4 separate regions of the Homo sapiens genome follow, and all the other regions are linked to region 1. Evidence: promoter capture Hi-C in human tissues and cell types (Jung and others, 2019). All regions are on one chromosome and are shown on one strand. Each heading gives the region's core, a stretch centred on a gene start or on the middle of the fragment in contact. The rest is flanking DNA. Distances are from core to core; before and after follow the strand shown. Region 1 holds the start of OAS1 (2'-5'-oligoadenylate synthetase 1). Region 2 has its middle 100 kb from the start of PTPN11. Region 3 has its middle 130 kb from the start of PTPN11. Region 4 overlaps DRC10 (dynein regulatory complex subunit 10).

Region 1 (3,526 bases), core at 444-2,943:
TGGATGAACTCTCCCCGGCGATTTAACTGATCCTGAAAAGTGGTGAGAGGACTGAGGAAGACAACCAGGTCAGCGTCAGATCGGCCTCTGAGGGTGGTGCCCTTGCCTGAGGAGCCACCCTGAAAAAGACGACAAAAATAATAATTGATGCTTAGTGAGGCAAACCTCCCTAAATAAAATGACAGGAGCAATCACTAACATTATGGAGCACTAGCCACTGTTCTGAAGGCATTGCATGTCTTAAACTCCTATAATGCTCACAATGATGCTATGATTTGGATGCCATTATCATTAGTTCCCATTTTACAGATGGGAAAATGGATGCTCAGTGAGATAATATATCAGCCCCATCACCCAGCTAGTAGGTGGCAAATACAATTCAAACCTGGGGGCCTTCTTCCAGGATCTGTGTTCTTTTCCCATTGTCCTTTACGATGCCCAGGACTAGCTTATGCTGGGTGGTTCACACTTACTATTTTACTTAATCTACACGGCCCTATGAGGTATTGAGGGAAAGTAGAGGAAAAATCAGTTAGGTAAATGGTCAAGGCTGGGCCCTGGAGGAGCGGCCTGCCTGAAACTGGCGCAGGGAGTGGGACTTACCTAAAACAAATCCACAGTTATACATACAAGAGAAGCAGCGCTTTATGCTTGCCTAGAGATATACCCACAGCTGCATAAGGTAAGGGAAGTTGCACAGCTTTACTGATAAAAAGTTTCTCAAACAGTTACAGGGAGGAGAGTGGTTTCTTATAAAAGTTTTTTGCATTCAGCTGCAATCTGGCAATCCACTCAGACTTCCCTCTCCACAGTGGAGACAGCTTTCTTCTTTTGCTTACTGAACTTTTGCTCCAAGCTCACGTTTGTGTCCATGTTCCTTAATTTTCTTGGATGCAGGACAAAGAACCTTGGGTACTAATTCAGTGAGAAGCTGCTACATTAAGGTGCACTGGCAAGACTGCAACAGTATTGGGGATTATGGCTGAGGAAATTGGAACACAGAGTAGTTAAGTGACTTGCTCAAGGTCTTGCAGCCAGCAGGTGCTATTTGCTTTCAAAACATATGATTCTTCACTGCAGAAATGGTGAGCCCCTAGCCTGGCCACGAATTAGCAAACTGTTTACCAGAGCTGGGATTCAGTTCCCTATTTCTGAAATGGGCATCGCCCAGGACAGTGGTTCATAAACTTCAGCGGGAAGTAGGGGGGAGGGTCACTTGTTAATAATAGGGATGTAGGATTTCACCCCAGAATCTATTTTAACATGCTGTGTGGATAAATAAGAAACCACCATCCCAGAAGATCTCAGCTCTCTGTACTCACATTTGCACCCTGGGTTCTAGGTTTTTGCTTCTCTCTCTCTCTCTCTCTCATTCTCAATCTCAACTCTTGCACATTCAGCCACCCCTCCCCTGGCCAGGCAGGCCTGGACTCACCTTTACCACCTTGGACACACACACAGGGTAGGAGCTACCTCGGAAGCACCTTTCCTTCAGGAACCCACAGATGATGTCAATGGCATGGTTGATTTGCATGCGGAAACACGTGTCTGGCAAGAGATAGTCTTCAATGAACTTGTCCAGAGATTTGGCTGGGGTATTTCTGAGATCCATCATTGACAGGAGAGAGAGTGGCAACAGAACTGCCTCCCAGACCTGTTTGCTTTTATCTCTTCTGCTGACTGAGCTTGGACTGCTGTTGGTTTCGTTTCCTCAGAAGGGAGGAGCTGTCTTTGCACTTTCCTTTTGCAAATCAGACACTCCCCTGATCCCAGTGCTGAATTTCATCTGCTCACTCTTCTGCTTCCTGAAACTTACCCTTTGTCCTTTAGCCAGCAACAAGCAGCCCAGCCTTTCTCTGAACTCTGCTCTGGAAATGCATTTTAACCTCCAGCCAACATAAATCTTATTTAACAGATTTTGTGTTTCCTTCTTTATCTTTTTTTTGTTGTTGATGAAATCCTTTCACAGTTGTCTGTGGTATTTTCCAGCAATACATGCCCACTGCAAAAAGAAAAAAAGTCAGAAAAACCAGGAAGTGGAAAGATCATCTATGATTCTAACACTACAAAATTGCCTCTATAAACGTTTTGATATAGAGCTTTCCAGATTTTTTTCAAATGTTAACACACACACAAACACAGGTCTCTTTTCTTTTTGTTAAGAATGGTATTATACTATGCTTTTTTCCCTTTCAATTAGTAGATTTTTATTTTATTTTATTATTTTTTGGAGACAGGATCTTGCTTTGTTATCCAGGCTGGAGTGCAGGGGCATGATCATGACTCGTGCAACCTCAACTTCCTGGGTTCAAGGGATCCTCCTGCCCCAGCCTCCTGAATACCTGGGACTACAGGCATGCGTTACTGCACCCAGCTCATTTTTTATTTTTTGTAGAGACAAGGTCTTGCTATGTTGCCCAGGTTGGATTTTATTTCTCACAGCAGTTTTAGGCTTACAGAAATATTGAGCTGAATGTGCAGAGAGTTCCATAAGCTCTCTCTCCTGCCAATAAGTTCCTCTATTATTAACAGTACTGTGATACATTTGTTACAATTGATGAATTGATATTAATACATCATAATTAACAAAAGTCCATTTACATTAAGGTTTACATTAAGGTTCACTCTTGTGTCCTACAGTTCTATGGATTTTGCCAAACATAACATGTCATGTATCCACCATTACAGCACCATGCAGAATAGTTTTGAGATAGGAGGTGGGGCTTGACTCAGGGCCAGATTGAAGACTGGCTGGCATGAGCACCAGCACCATGAACAGTTTACTCATTCCCTGGCAATGACCCAGTTACCACCCTTCTTCTAGAAATTTCTGAATAACCTGCCCTTAATTTGCACGTATTTAAAAGTGGGTATGAATGTGACTATAGAAGTGCCCTGAGCTGCTGCTCTCCAGGCACTGCCTATGGGGTGGCCCTGCTCTGCAGGGACAGTCACAGAACTGTAACCCTGCTGCCTCAATAAACCTTTTTCTTCCTCCTCTAGCTCACCCTTGAATTCCTTCCTGGACGAAGCCAAGAGCCTTCCCGGACGGTGTCCCAGTTTTGGGGCTCCCCTGCCCTGCAAGAGTTTCACTACCTTAAAATCCCCTATGCCTCACCTGTTCATCCCTCTCTGAGTTAGATCTTTCTTCTCCTAATATATGCATTCAATGCTATAACTTTCCCTCTAAACACTACTTTCACTACATCCCACACTTTTTGATAGGCTGTTTTTTCATTTTAATTTAATTCAAAATATATTTATTTATTTTGTTGAGACAGGGTCTCACTCTGTTGCCCAGGCTGGGGTGCAGTGGCACAATCTTAGCTCACTGCAGCCTTGACCTCCTGGGCTCAGGTGATCCTCCCACCTCAGCCTCCCAAGTAGCTGGGACTACAGGTACATGCCACCATGCCTGGCTAATTTTTGTATTTTTTGTAGAGATGGGGTTTCTGCATGTGGCCCAGTCTGGTCTCGAACTCCTGGGCTCAAGCGATCCATCTGCCTCAGCCTCCCAAAGTGCTAG
Region 2 (3,526 bases), core at 614-3,113, 380 kb after region 1:
AAAAGTTTGCCAACCCTGGTCTAAAGTTGTGTTTTCAGTATAGTTCCTAAGGTTTCTGGAAGTGAAGTAAGATCATGCATCTTACTTCAGTAAGATGGTACATAGCACTTAATAAATGCTCAATTAACAGATGGCAGCTAACAGCCTTGGGTTAGTCCGTTCTCACACTGCTATAAAGACATAGCTTAGAGTGGGTGATAGAAGTTTAATTGACTCACATGGGTGGGGAGGCCTCAGGAAACTTACAATTATGGCACAAAGTGAAGGAGAAGCAAGGCACATCTTAAATGGCGGCAGGCGAGACAGTGAAGGGGGACTGCCACACTTTTAAACCGTAAGATCTCATGAGAACTCACTATCACAAGAACAGCAAGGGGGAAATCCACCCCGATGATCCAATCAGCTCCTGCCAGGCCCCTCCTCTGACACATGGGGATTACAGTTTTAGATTATGAGATTTGGGTGGGACACAGAGCCAAATGATATCAGGCCTCAGTTTACACATCTGTAAAATGAAGATAACCATAGCACCTACCCAGTATGGTTGTTTTGTGGATTTAATAAGAGAATCCATGTCAGGCACCTTAGCACAGTGCCTGTATATACAAGGGGACTTCAAAAAGTTCATAGATATTGAAGTAAAAGATAAAAATATAAAATATAAATTTTATTTCTCAACATAAGCTCCATCAAGATCATGACTTTTTTTTTTTTTTTTTTTTTTGACACAGGGTGTTGCTCTGTCACCCAGGCTGGAGTGCAGTGCCATGATCATGGCTCACTGCAGCCTCAATCTCCTAGGTTCAAGCAATCCTCTCACTTATAGGCATGAACCACTGTGCCCAGCAAAGATCATGACACTTTTGTAAGTCATGATACCAGCCATTTAGTCCAACCCTGAAGAACTGAGGGTCCTGGGAATTGAACCCTGTCAATGCAGTCTTTTTTACATTATTAACAGTAGAAAAATGGGCCCTTTGAAGATTTTTTTAAGATTAAGAAACAAAAAGAAGTCAGAAGGTGCAGAATCAGAACTGTAAAGTGGATGCCTAATAATTTCCCATAAAAACTCTTACAAAATCGTCCTTGTTTGATGAGAGGAATGAGCAGTAGTGTTGTCATAGTGGAGGAGGACTTTCTGGTGAAGGTTTCCCAGGTGTTTTTCTGGTTAAAGCTTTAGCTAGCTCTCTCAAAACACTCTCATAATCAGCAGATGTTATCATTCTTTGGCCCTCCAGAAAGTCAACAAGCAAAATGCCTGGAGCATCCCCGAAAACTGTTGCCATGACCTTGCTCTTGACCGGTCTGCTTTTGCTTTGACTGGACTACTTCTACCTCTTAGTATCCATGGCTTCGCTTGGGCTTAGTTTTCAGGATCATAATGGTAAATGTTTCATCTCCTGTTACAATTCTTCAAATAAATGTTCAGGATCTTGATCTCATTTGTTTAAATTTCCATTGAAAACTCTGCTTTTGTCTGCAGCTGATCTGGGTGTAATAATTTTACACTCATGAGTGGCATTGCTCAACTTTAATTTTTCACTCAGAATGGTGTAAGCAGAACCAATGGAGATGTCTATGGTGCTGGCTATTGTTTCTGCTGTTAATCATCAGTCCTCTTCAGTTAGGGCACAAATAAGATAATTTTCTCCTCGAAAATTGATGTGGATGATCTGCCACTGTGCACCTCATTTTCGACATTGTCTTTTTTTTCTTTTTTGAGATGGAGTCTCACTCTGTCACCCAGGCTGGAGTGCAGTGGTGCAATCTTGACTCAGTGCAGCCTCCACCTCCTGGGCTCAAGCAATTCTCCCACCTCAGCCTCCACAGTAGCTGGAATGTCGGGCGTGTGCCACCATGCCTGGCAAGTCAATATTGTCTTGTCCCTTCTTAAAATGAGATATCCATTTGTAAACTGCTGATTTATCTACCACATTTTCCCCACAAACTTTTCATAAGGCATTAGTGATTTCACCATCCTTCCACCCGAGCTTCACCATAAACTTGATGTTTGTTCTTACTTCAGTTTTAGGAGAATTCATGTTGCTCTGACAGGGGTTCTTTTCAAACAGATGTCTTATCCTTCTTAGTGCCTCAAACTAGATCCTGTTCAGACGTGTTGTAACAAGTTAGTATGAGTTTATTTTGGTGCAAAAAAACTTTGAGATCCATACACAGTTGTTTGTTTGTTTGATTGTTTGAGACGGAGTCTTGCTCTGTTGCTGAGGCTGGAGTACAATGGCACCATCTGGGCTCACTGCAACCTCCACCTCCTGGGTTCAAGTGATTCTTGTGCCTCAGCCTCCCGAGTAGCTGGGACTACAGGCGCCCGCTACCACGCCTGGCTAATTTTTGTATTTTTAGTAGAGATGTGGTTTCACCATGTTGGCCAGGCTGGTCTCGATCTCCTGATTTCAAGTGATCCACCTGCCTCAGCCACCCAAAGTGCTGGGATTACAGGCGTGAGCCACCATGCCCAGTTGTAATTTTTCTTCTGCAAACATTGTATTATTTGCTTTTGCATGTTGCTGAACATGCAAAATAAATGGTCTCGTTCTGTTCATATGATTCTATGATTGGCTTGTCTCCCTCAACCCTTCGTATGATTTATCTGTGTTGATGTGATCCACTCCTTTCCACTGATGCATCAGACTTCAGTGTATGGAAAATAGCACAACTGACACCATAACCATTTTTCTTTAAAGGAACATTTGCAGGGGGTGGTACTTCTGTTGTGGGATACTACAAATAAACAATCATTCTCGCCAGTGCGGTGGCTGACGCCTGTAATCCCAGCACTCTGGGAGGCCAAGGCAGGTGGATCGCTTGAGCTCAGGAGTTCAAAACAAGCCTGGGCAACATAGCAAGACCCTCATCTCTACAAAAAATTCAAAAATTAGCCGAGCGTGGTGGTGTGTGCCTGTAGTTCCAGCTACTCAGGAGGCTGAGACAGGAGGATGGCTTGAGCCCAGGAGGCGGAGATTGCAGTAAGCTAAGATCCCACCACTGTACTCCAGCCTAAGCAACAGAGCGAGACCCTGCCTCAAAAACAGGCCATGCGTGGTGGCTCATGCCTATAATCTCAATACTTTGGGAGGCCAAGAAGGGCAGATCACCTGAGGTCAGGAGTTTGAGACCAGCCTGGACAACATGGTGAAACCCTGTCTCTACTAAAAATACAAAAATTAGCCAAACGTGGTGGCAGGTGCCTGTAATCCCAGCTACTTGGGAGGCTGAGGCACGAGAATCACTTGAACCCGGGAGGCAGAGGTTGCAGTGAGCTGAGATCGTGCCACTGCAGTCCAGCCTAGGCGACAGAGCTAATCTCAGTCTCAAAAAAAAAAAAAAAAAAAACCAACAATTGTTCCCATGATGTCTATTAGCTCATTTAATCCTCACAGTGGCATGGGCAGTACGGTACAATTGTCAGCCACATTCTTCAGTGAGGAAACTGAGGCTCTAGAAGCTTAAGTTACCAAAATCACACAGGCACGACTCCTAACCAGCTCTTGACTCTCAGCCTTCC
Region 3 (3,526 bases), core at 668-3,167, 360 kb after region 1:
CTCTAAGATGCTGATGTCACCAGCAACATGCAAACACGCATCACAGGCATGGGAGGGGACTGGCCTGCCTATGACCCATCCTCAGCCAGAGGCCAGGAGCAGTCACTGCCTGTCTTCCTTCCCACTTTCCAGCCTCAGCCTCTCTCTTCCTTGCCCATCTCCTCTCCTCCCTGCACTAACTGCAGCCTCTTGTTCTTTTTTTTTTTTAATAGACAGAGCCTAGCTCTGTTGCCCAGGCTGGAGTGCAGTGGCGCGATCTTGGCTCACTGCAACCTCCAGCTCCCAGATTCAAGCAATTCTCCTGCCTCGGCCTCCCAAAGTCCTGGGATTACAGGCATGAGCCACTGCGCCCGGCCAGCCTCTTGTTCTTGATGGAGAAGGTTCAAGCTGCATCTGACGGCCTTGAAGATGTAGGAAAAACAAAATAATTATGACCTGCCTTTCCTAGCGTCTTTCAGCAAGAGACCCAAAGTGCTTTCCAACGTTAATGAGGCTGCTGAGGTTCCCAGCTGCCAAGCAAGTGGAGCAGGTCACAAACAGAGCTGGGGACAGAGCTGTCAGGGTCTCTCTTCCTGCTGCCTTTGAGAGGCCTCCAGGAGGAATAGCAGCTAAATCTGAGAAATATCTGTCCAGTTCCAAAAGGAAAAATGAATCTATGCTTTGGGTCACTTCTTTCAATGCTAGTAAAATGCAACACAGAAAAGAGAAGCCAGAAAATCTTAAAATGTTGTGAAAGGAATCTTACATAATTAAACTGATTACCAGCAATCAGCTTATCCACTTCTGCCACAATCAAGCTGGAAATCAGCATCATGTCATTCAGGCGATCAACAAACACTCACTGTCATTTCTCATGTCACTCAGACATGCTCTTTCTTTCTTTCTTTCTTTTCTTTTTTTTTTTTTTTTGAGATAGAGTCTCACTCTGTCACCCAGGATGGAGTGTAGCTCACTGCAACTTCTGCCTCCCAGGTTCAAGCGATTATCTTGCCTCAACCTCCCGAGTAGCTGAGATTACAGGCATGTGCCAATACACCCGGCAAATTTTTGTATTTTTAGTAGAGATGGGGTTTCACCTTGTTGGCCAGGCTGGTCTCAAACTCCTGGACTCAAGTGATCCGCCCACCTCAGCCTCCCAAAGTGCTGGGATTATAGGGGTGAGCCACCGCACCCAGCCTAGACATGCTCTTTCTGACCTCTCTATTTAAAATAGCATCCCACTGCCCACCCTCCACCATCTCCACCCTTCTGTGTTCTCTTACCCTACTTTGTCTTCTTGTACTTATTACTATACCAAATTAGGATTGTTTATCTGTTTTCTCACTATTTCCTTCCTCACCTGAAAATAAACCTCATGTCTCCCTTATCTGCGGCTCTGCTCCGGCACCTAGCACAAGCGTCTCACGCATCGTAGGCCCTCAATACATATTTGTTGCATGAGTGAATGAGAAAGTGAATGAAGGAAGAAAGGAACAGCACTTTGAGGTAGGCGGGACTGATATATCTACGTCATTTAACAGCTGAAGAAACACGCTCAGCCACACTGAAGCCAATAGCCCAAGGAGGAGAAGGGAAAGGGACTAACAGGAATGCCTGCTGTGTGCCACGGACTGCGCCAGGTGTATTGCATAGGTTCTCTCATCTGAACCCGTTAACAACCCATGAAGAAGTCAGGGTTACCCATATATTATGGATGACTAGCAAAGTTCAGAAACTGCCTTGTGGTAGACAGAATAACACCCCCCCCACCCCCCACAAGATATCCACATCCTAATCCTTGGAACCTGTGAATATGTTACTTTACATGGTGCAAAGGGTAATTATGGTTGCAGATAGAATTAAGTTTGTTGGCTGGATGCAGTGACTTATACCTGTAATCTCAGCACTTTGGGAGGCCAAGGTGGGAGGATCACTTGAGCCCAGGAGTTTGAGACCAGCCTGGGCAACACAGAGAAACCCCGTCTCTACAAAACAACAACAAGAACAACAACAACAAACAAACAAAAAAATTAGCCAGGCTTGATTTTGCACACCTGTAGTCCCAGCTACTTGGGCGGCTGAGGCAAGAGCATCGCTTGAGCAAAGGAAATGGAGGCTGCCGTGAGCCATGATTGTACCACTGCACTCCAGCCTGGGCGACAGAGTGAAACAAAAGAACTTTTTAAAAATTAAACAGAATTAAGTTTGCTAACCTTAAAATAAAGAAATTATCCTGGATTATCTGGGTGGACTCAATGTAATCACAAGGGTCCTTTAAAGATTGAAGAGCACTTGGGAGGCTGAGATGGGAAGATCACTTGAGCCCAGGAGGTCGAGGCTGCAGTGAACCATGATCATGCCACTGCACTCCAGCCTGGGCAACAGAGTGAGACTGTGTCTCAAAATACACACACACACACACACACACACACACACACACACACACACATATATATATATATATATATATGAGGGAGGCAGAGTCAAAGGAATGCAACATGAGAAAGACTAAACCAGCTGTTACTGGCTTTGAAGGTTGAAGGGGCCATGAGCCAAAGAATGCAGGCATCCTCTAAGACAGGGGTCCCCAACCCCCAGGCCACCGGTTGGTACTGTCTGTGGCCTCTTAGGAACCAGGCCACACAGCAGGAGGCAAGCAGCAGGCAAGTGAGCAAAGCTTCATCTGTATTTATAGCCACTCCCCATCTCTCACATTACCACCTGAGCTCCGCCTCCTGTCAGATCAGCTGCGGCATTAGATTCTCATAGGAGCACGAACCCTATCGTGAACTGCTCATGCAAGGGATCTAGCTTGTGCACTCCTTATGAAAATCAAATGCCTGATGATCTGTCACTGTCTCCCATCACTCCCAGATGGGACCATCTACTTGCAGAAAAACAAGCTCAGGGCTCCCACTGATTCTACATTATGGTGAGTTGTATAATTATTTCATTATACATTACAATGTAATAATAATAGAAATAAAGTGCACAATAAATGTGATATACTTGAATCATCCTGAAACCATCCCCTACACCATCACCATCCCGCGGAAAAACTGTCTTCCATGAAACCAGTCCCTGGTGCCAAAAAGGTTGGGGACCACTGCTCTAAGAAGCTGAAGAAGGCAAGGAAACAGATTCTCCCCCTAAAGCCTCCAAAAAGTGGGCCGGGCGCAGTGGCTCGTGCCTGTAATCCTAGCACTTTGGGAGGACAAGGTGGGTGGATCACCTGAGGTCAGGTTTGAGACCAGCCTGACCAACATGGTGAAACCCTGTCTCTACTAAAAAATACAAAATTAGCCAGGCATGGTGGCACACACCTGTAATCCCAGCTACCTGGGATTACAGCTGAGGCAGGAGAATCCCTTGAACCTGGGAGGCAGAGGTTGCAGTGAACTGAGATCACACCACTGTACTCCAGCCTAGGCAACAGAGCGAGACTCTGTCTCAAAAAAAAAAAAAAAAAAAAAAAAAGACTCCAAAAAGCAATGCAGCTTTTTGACACCTTGATTTTTGCCTATTGCCTTTAGCCCATTGCAGTTCT
Region 4 (3,526 bases), core at 1,027-3,526, 290 kb before region 1:
CTGGCAATCACTAATGTGCTTTCTGTCTCTGTGGATTCACCTATTCTAGACACTTCATATGAATGGAATCTTCTGTGGCCGTTGTGTCTGGCATGTTTTACTTAGCACTGTGTTTTCAAGGTTCACCCATGTTGTAGCATGGATCAGTGCTTCACTGCTTTTTATGGTGGAAATAATCTTTTAAAAACAAGATTAGATCATGTCCCTCCACTGCATCTAAATCACCCAGTGGCTTCACCTCACCCTTTCCTGAGAATACAGCCTCCTCTTGCTGACACTCCCTCTGTGACACAGCCTTTTCCTTGGACCTTGTTGGGGACCACTTTCCTCCTCGCCACTCCCTTCCAGTCACACTGGCTTGATTTCTGTCCTTTAATTTTTTTTTTAATTTTTATTTTTTGAGACAGTCTTGCTCTGTCACCCAGGCTGGAGTGTGGTGGCATGATCTCAGCTCACTGCAAACTCTGCCTCCTGGGTTCAAGTGATTCTCCTGCCTCAGCCTCCTGAGTAGCTGAGATTACAGGTGTGCATCACCATGCCTGGCTAATTTTTGTATCTTTAGTAGAGATGGGGTTTTGGCATGTTGGCCAGGCTGGTCTCAAACTCCTGGCCTCAAGTGACCCGCCTGCCTCAGCCTCCCAAAGCGCTGGGATTACAGGCGTAAGCCACCACGCCAGGCTGATTTCTGTCCTTTAAACAGCACAAGCTTGTTCCTACCTCAGGGCCTTTGCACCTGCTGCTTTCTCTGCCTAGGATGTCCTGGAACCAGGCTGCTGGCATCAAATTCAGGCTCTGCCACCCATTAGCTCTGTCACCTTGGGCAAGTAAGATAGCATGTCTGAGCCTCAGTTCTCTCCCCTGTGAAATGGAGAAAAGGGAACCTCCTTGTTCAATAGGCGAGGCATGTCAAGCACCTGCCAGAGCCTAGTGATGCAGAGAGTGCTCAGTGCTGTTGATTGTTAATATATTCCATCAAACAATGACAAATTGGATCTTTTCTAGAAGAAATATAAAGTGGAAACGGAAATCGAGAACTGGATCCAGAAATATGATACAGAGATGGGTGAGAAGCAGGTATTTGTCGCTGAATAAGTCTCTCTCGCATGCTTTTCCCAAGACCTTCTAGGAATGGGATGAATGGGAAAAGTAGCCTTGGGATGGTCCATGGAGTGGGCAAACTTCTGAGCCTCTCTGCAGGGAGCACTTCCCTTTGTTTAAAGGGTTTGTCCAGCCTGGGGCAGAGTGAGAGGTGGGAAAGAAAAGAGCCAGAAGCTGCAAGGCCAGGTGCTGTGGCTCATGCCTGTAATCCCAGCACGTTGGGAGGCTGAGGTGGGAGGATCGCTTGAGCTCAGTAATTCAAGACCGGCCTGGGCAACAGAGCAAGACTCCATCTCTATTAATTTAAAAAAAAAAAAAAAAAAAAAGCGACTGGCTAGAAGGGCCTGACACTCTGACACTGGGCCTAATGATCATGGCTCCATCTAGTGTCCACATCCCATACTCCTCTGGATGGGCTCCTGCCAGCACCCCTACAAGGTGGGGCTCCTTCCCACAGACTCAGATGGGAGCCTGCCTCCACTGCATCACTCAGTCACTCAGCCAGTTTTTATTGAGCACCTGAGATGTGCCAGCTGTGTGGCCTTAAGCAAGGTACTTGACCTTCCCAAGCCCGTTTCTGCATCTGATTAGCAAAGGCAGTAATTCCCATTTTGGGACCATGGCGGGGATTCGGTGAGACACCATGGCTGCAAGTGTGTGTGCCCAGCACAGGGTCTGGCCTGGAGGGAAGTGCTCAGGGGGTGGTAACCTTCAAATCGAGACACGCCCAAACCCTTCACCCAGCACTGGGATAACATTGGTGGCCCATGGCTCCAACCCAGGGGCCAGGGAGGACTGGGGAGCACTGGAGAGCACTGGAGGTAATATGCGCTGGAGTGAGCCAAAGCCAGGTGTGCTCTTCAGAGAAGGGCAAGTCAGAACCTTGTCCTGGGCAACCATCAGGGCCTGGAGAGGGGAGCTTTGCAGGCGGGGGCTCTCATTTCTCTGGGTCCCATGAGGGTTGTGGGTTGGTTGCGGGCAGGGACTTTGTCCACCCAGCTCTGTGTCCTCTGGCAGTGCTCTGCTTTTTGTAGATGCTGGGAAAACATCAGTGGAAGGAAGGAAAACGGGTGTAAATGACAGCAGGAGAGGCTATGGTTAGACATAAGGAAGAACTCTGGGACTCCGTTTGAGGCCTGAGAAAGTTCCTTCTCCTCTGGTGTCTTGTGGAACAGACTGCTTTCATGGCAGCAGCCTCCATTTCTTGTGTCCCCACTGTGTGCCTGGCATCATGTCCAGTACATTGTGTCCATCGGGTCATTTAATCCTAGAAACAGCCCCTGGCTTCGGAATCGTCCCCATGTTTCAGATGAGGAAAAACGAAGGCCCGAAAGGTGAAGTCAGTTGAGGTGTGGCAGAGCTGGGACTTAAAACTAAGTCTGCCCAACTCACAAGCCCATGTTCTTTTCCTGTTCCTGAAATTATTTCAGTTGGGTCCTTCCTAGAGCTAGGATGGAGCCCATCCCCTCTCCCCATCCATGTCACTGGGACCGAGAGATGCTGAACAGCTTAGCTTAGGGGCATCGCTGGGGCAGAAGACCATTTGGGAAGGGTAAGGGGGCCTCAGGGAGGAGGGTGGGAGGAGGCACTCTATGTGTGGTGACCCCAGCCCCACCCCTCACCCCAGGAGGAGTTGGAGGATCTGGACGCTGTTCACAGGGAGGAGAAGATCTCGCTGGAGGAGCTCAGGCGGAGGCACAAAGTGCTGGTGGGAGAGTTTGCGCAGATCCGGGAAGAGCGGGAGATCAACTCCAAGAAAAGGATGGAGGCAGAGCAGGAGATGGTGCGCATGGTACGGGCGGCCACGCTCATCCAGGCCCTATGGAAGGGCTATCTGGTGCGCTCCCTGCTCAGATCCAAGAAGAAGCGGGGCAAGGGCAAAGCAAAGGACAAGGAGAAGGGCAAGCAGAAAGGCAAGGAGAAGGGCAAGGGCAAGAAATGAGCTCTCCACCCAGCCCGCTCCTGACCCTTATCTTCCCAGAGACCAGGCCAGGAAGGCCCGAGATGGAGAGCACTAAATTCACGGCTTTCATGTTTTTATTTAATAAATTAAAAAGTATTTGAAGCCACATTGAAGGGAACGCTCTACGAATAAATCTCTTTACCCAGGGCTGTGGGCTGTGTGTGTCCAGCTCACAGATGGTGTTTCCATGAGGAGCGTGCAGCCTGGGGTGTCAGCCCAGAGATTATGGTTCCTTACTTCAGCCTTAGTGGGAAACCAGACCCCAGCTGCAGCCCGGAAGCTGCCATGGCCATGATGGACACATCACTCACCAGGGCAGCGGGGTGTGGGTCACAGCTGCCCATAGGGGGCAAAGAAGCAGGCAGGGAACTCCAGGAGGAGCGGGGCCTCAGGTTTCAGGCTGCCCCTAACCCTGTTCTGGGATTAATTTGCTTGCAACTTCCCCTGCTCTAGCACTGTGAAAGC

Evidence for each region. Contacts are between HindIII fragments. The study calls those that stand out against the background at their distance.
Region 2: a fragment that was not itself captured here is called in contact with the fragment with the promoter of OAS1 in region 1 in 2 of the 25 tissues and cell types used here (mesendoderm cells and thymus).
Region 3: a contact is called between a fragment that was not itself captured here and the fragment with the promoter of OAS1 in region 1, in 2 of the 25 tissues and cell types used here (liver and thymus).
Region 4: a contact is called between a fragment that was not itself captured here and the fragment with the promoter of OAS1 in region 1, in 1 of the 25 tissues and cell types used here (lymphoblastoid cells).

The regions. Positions count from the first base shown.
Region 1 is chr12:112,905,129-112,908,654 of GRCh38, reverse strand. OAS1 (2'-5'-oligoadenylate synthetase 1) reads right to left here and starts at 1,693. Exons shown (of 6, transcript NM_016816.4): 1 at 1,436-1,693; 2 at 1-119. The coding sequence starts at 1,615. RefSeq lists an enhancer at 1,413-1,852. The HindIII fragment of the contact is 21,386 bases long and covers 1-3,526 here.
Region 2 is chr12:112,520,799-112,524,324 of GRCh38, reverse strand. No RefSeq gene overlaps it. Among named protein-coding and RNA genes, the nearest start is that of PTPN11, 100 kb to the right of the region's middle. The HindIII fragment of the contact is 4,619 bases long and covers 1-3,526 here.
Region 3 is chr12:112,548,369-112,551,894 of GRCh38, reverse strand. No RefSeq gene overlaps it. Among named protein-coding and RNA genes, the nearest start is that of PTPN11, 130 kb to the right of the region's middle. The HindIII fragment of the contact is 5,589 bases long and covers 1-3,526 here.
Region 4 is chr12:113,195,089-113,198,614 of GRCh38, reverse strand. DRC10 (dynein regulatory complex subunit 10) reads left to right here. Exons shown (of 5, transcript NM_001330452.2): 4 at 1,003-1,074; 5 at 2,726-3,169. The coding sequence ends at 3,040. Among named protein-coding and RNA genes, the nearest start is that of RITA1, 11 kb to the right of the region's middle. The HindIII fragment of the contact is 6,666 bases long and covers 1-3,526 here.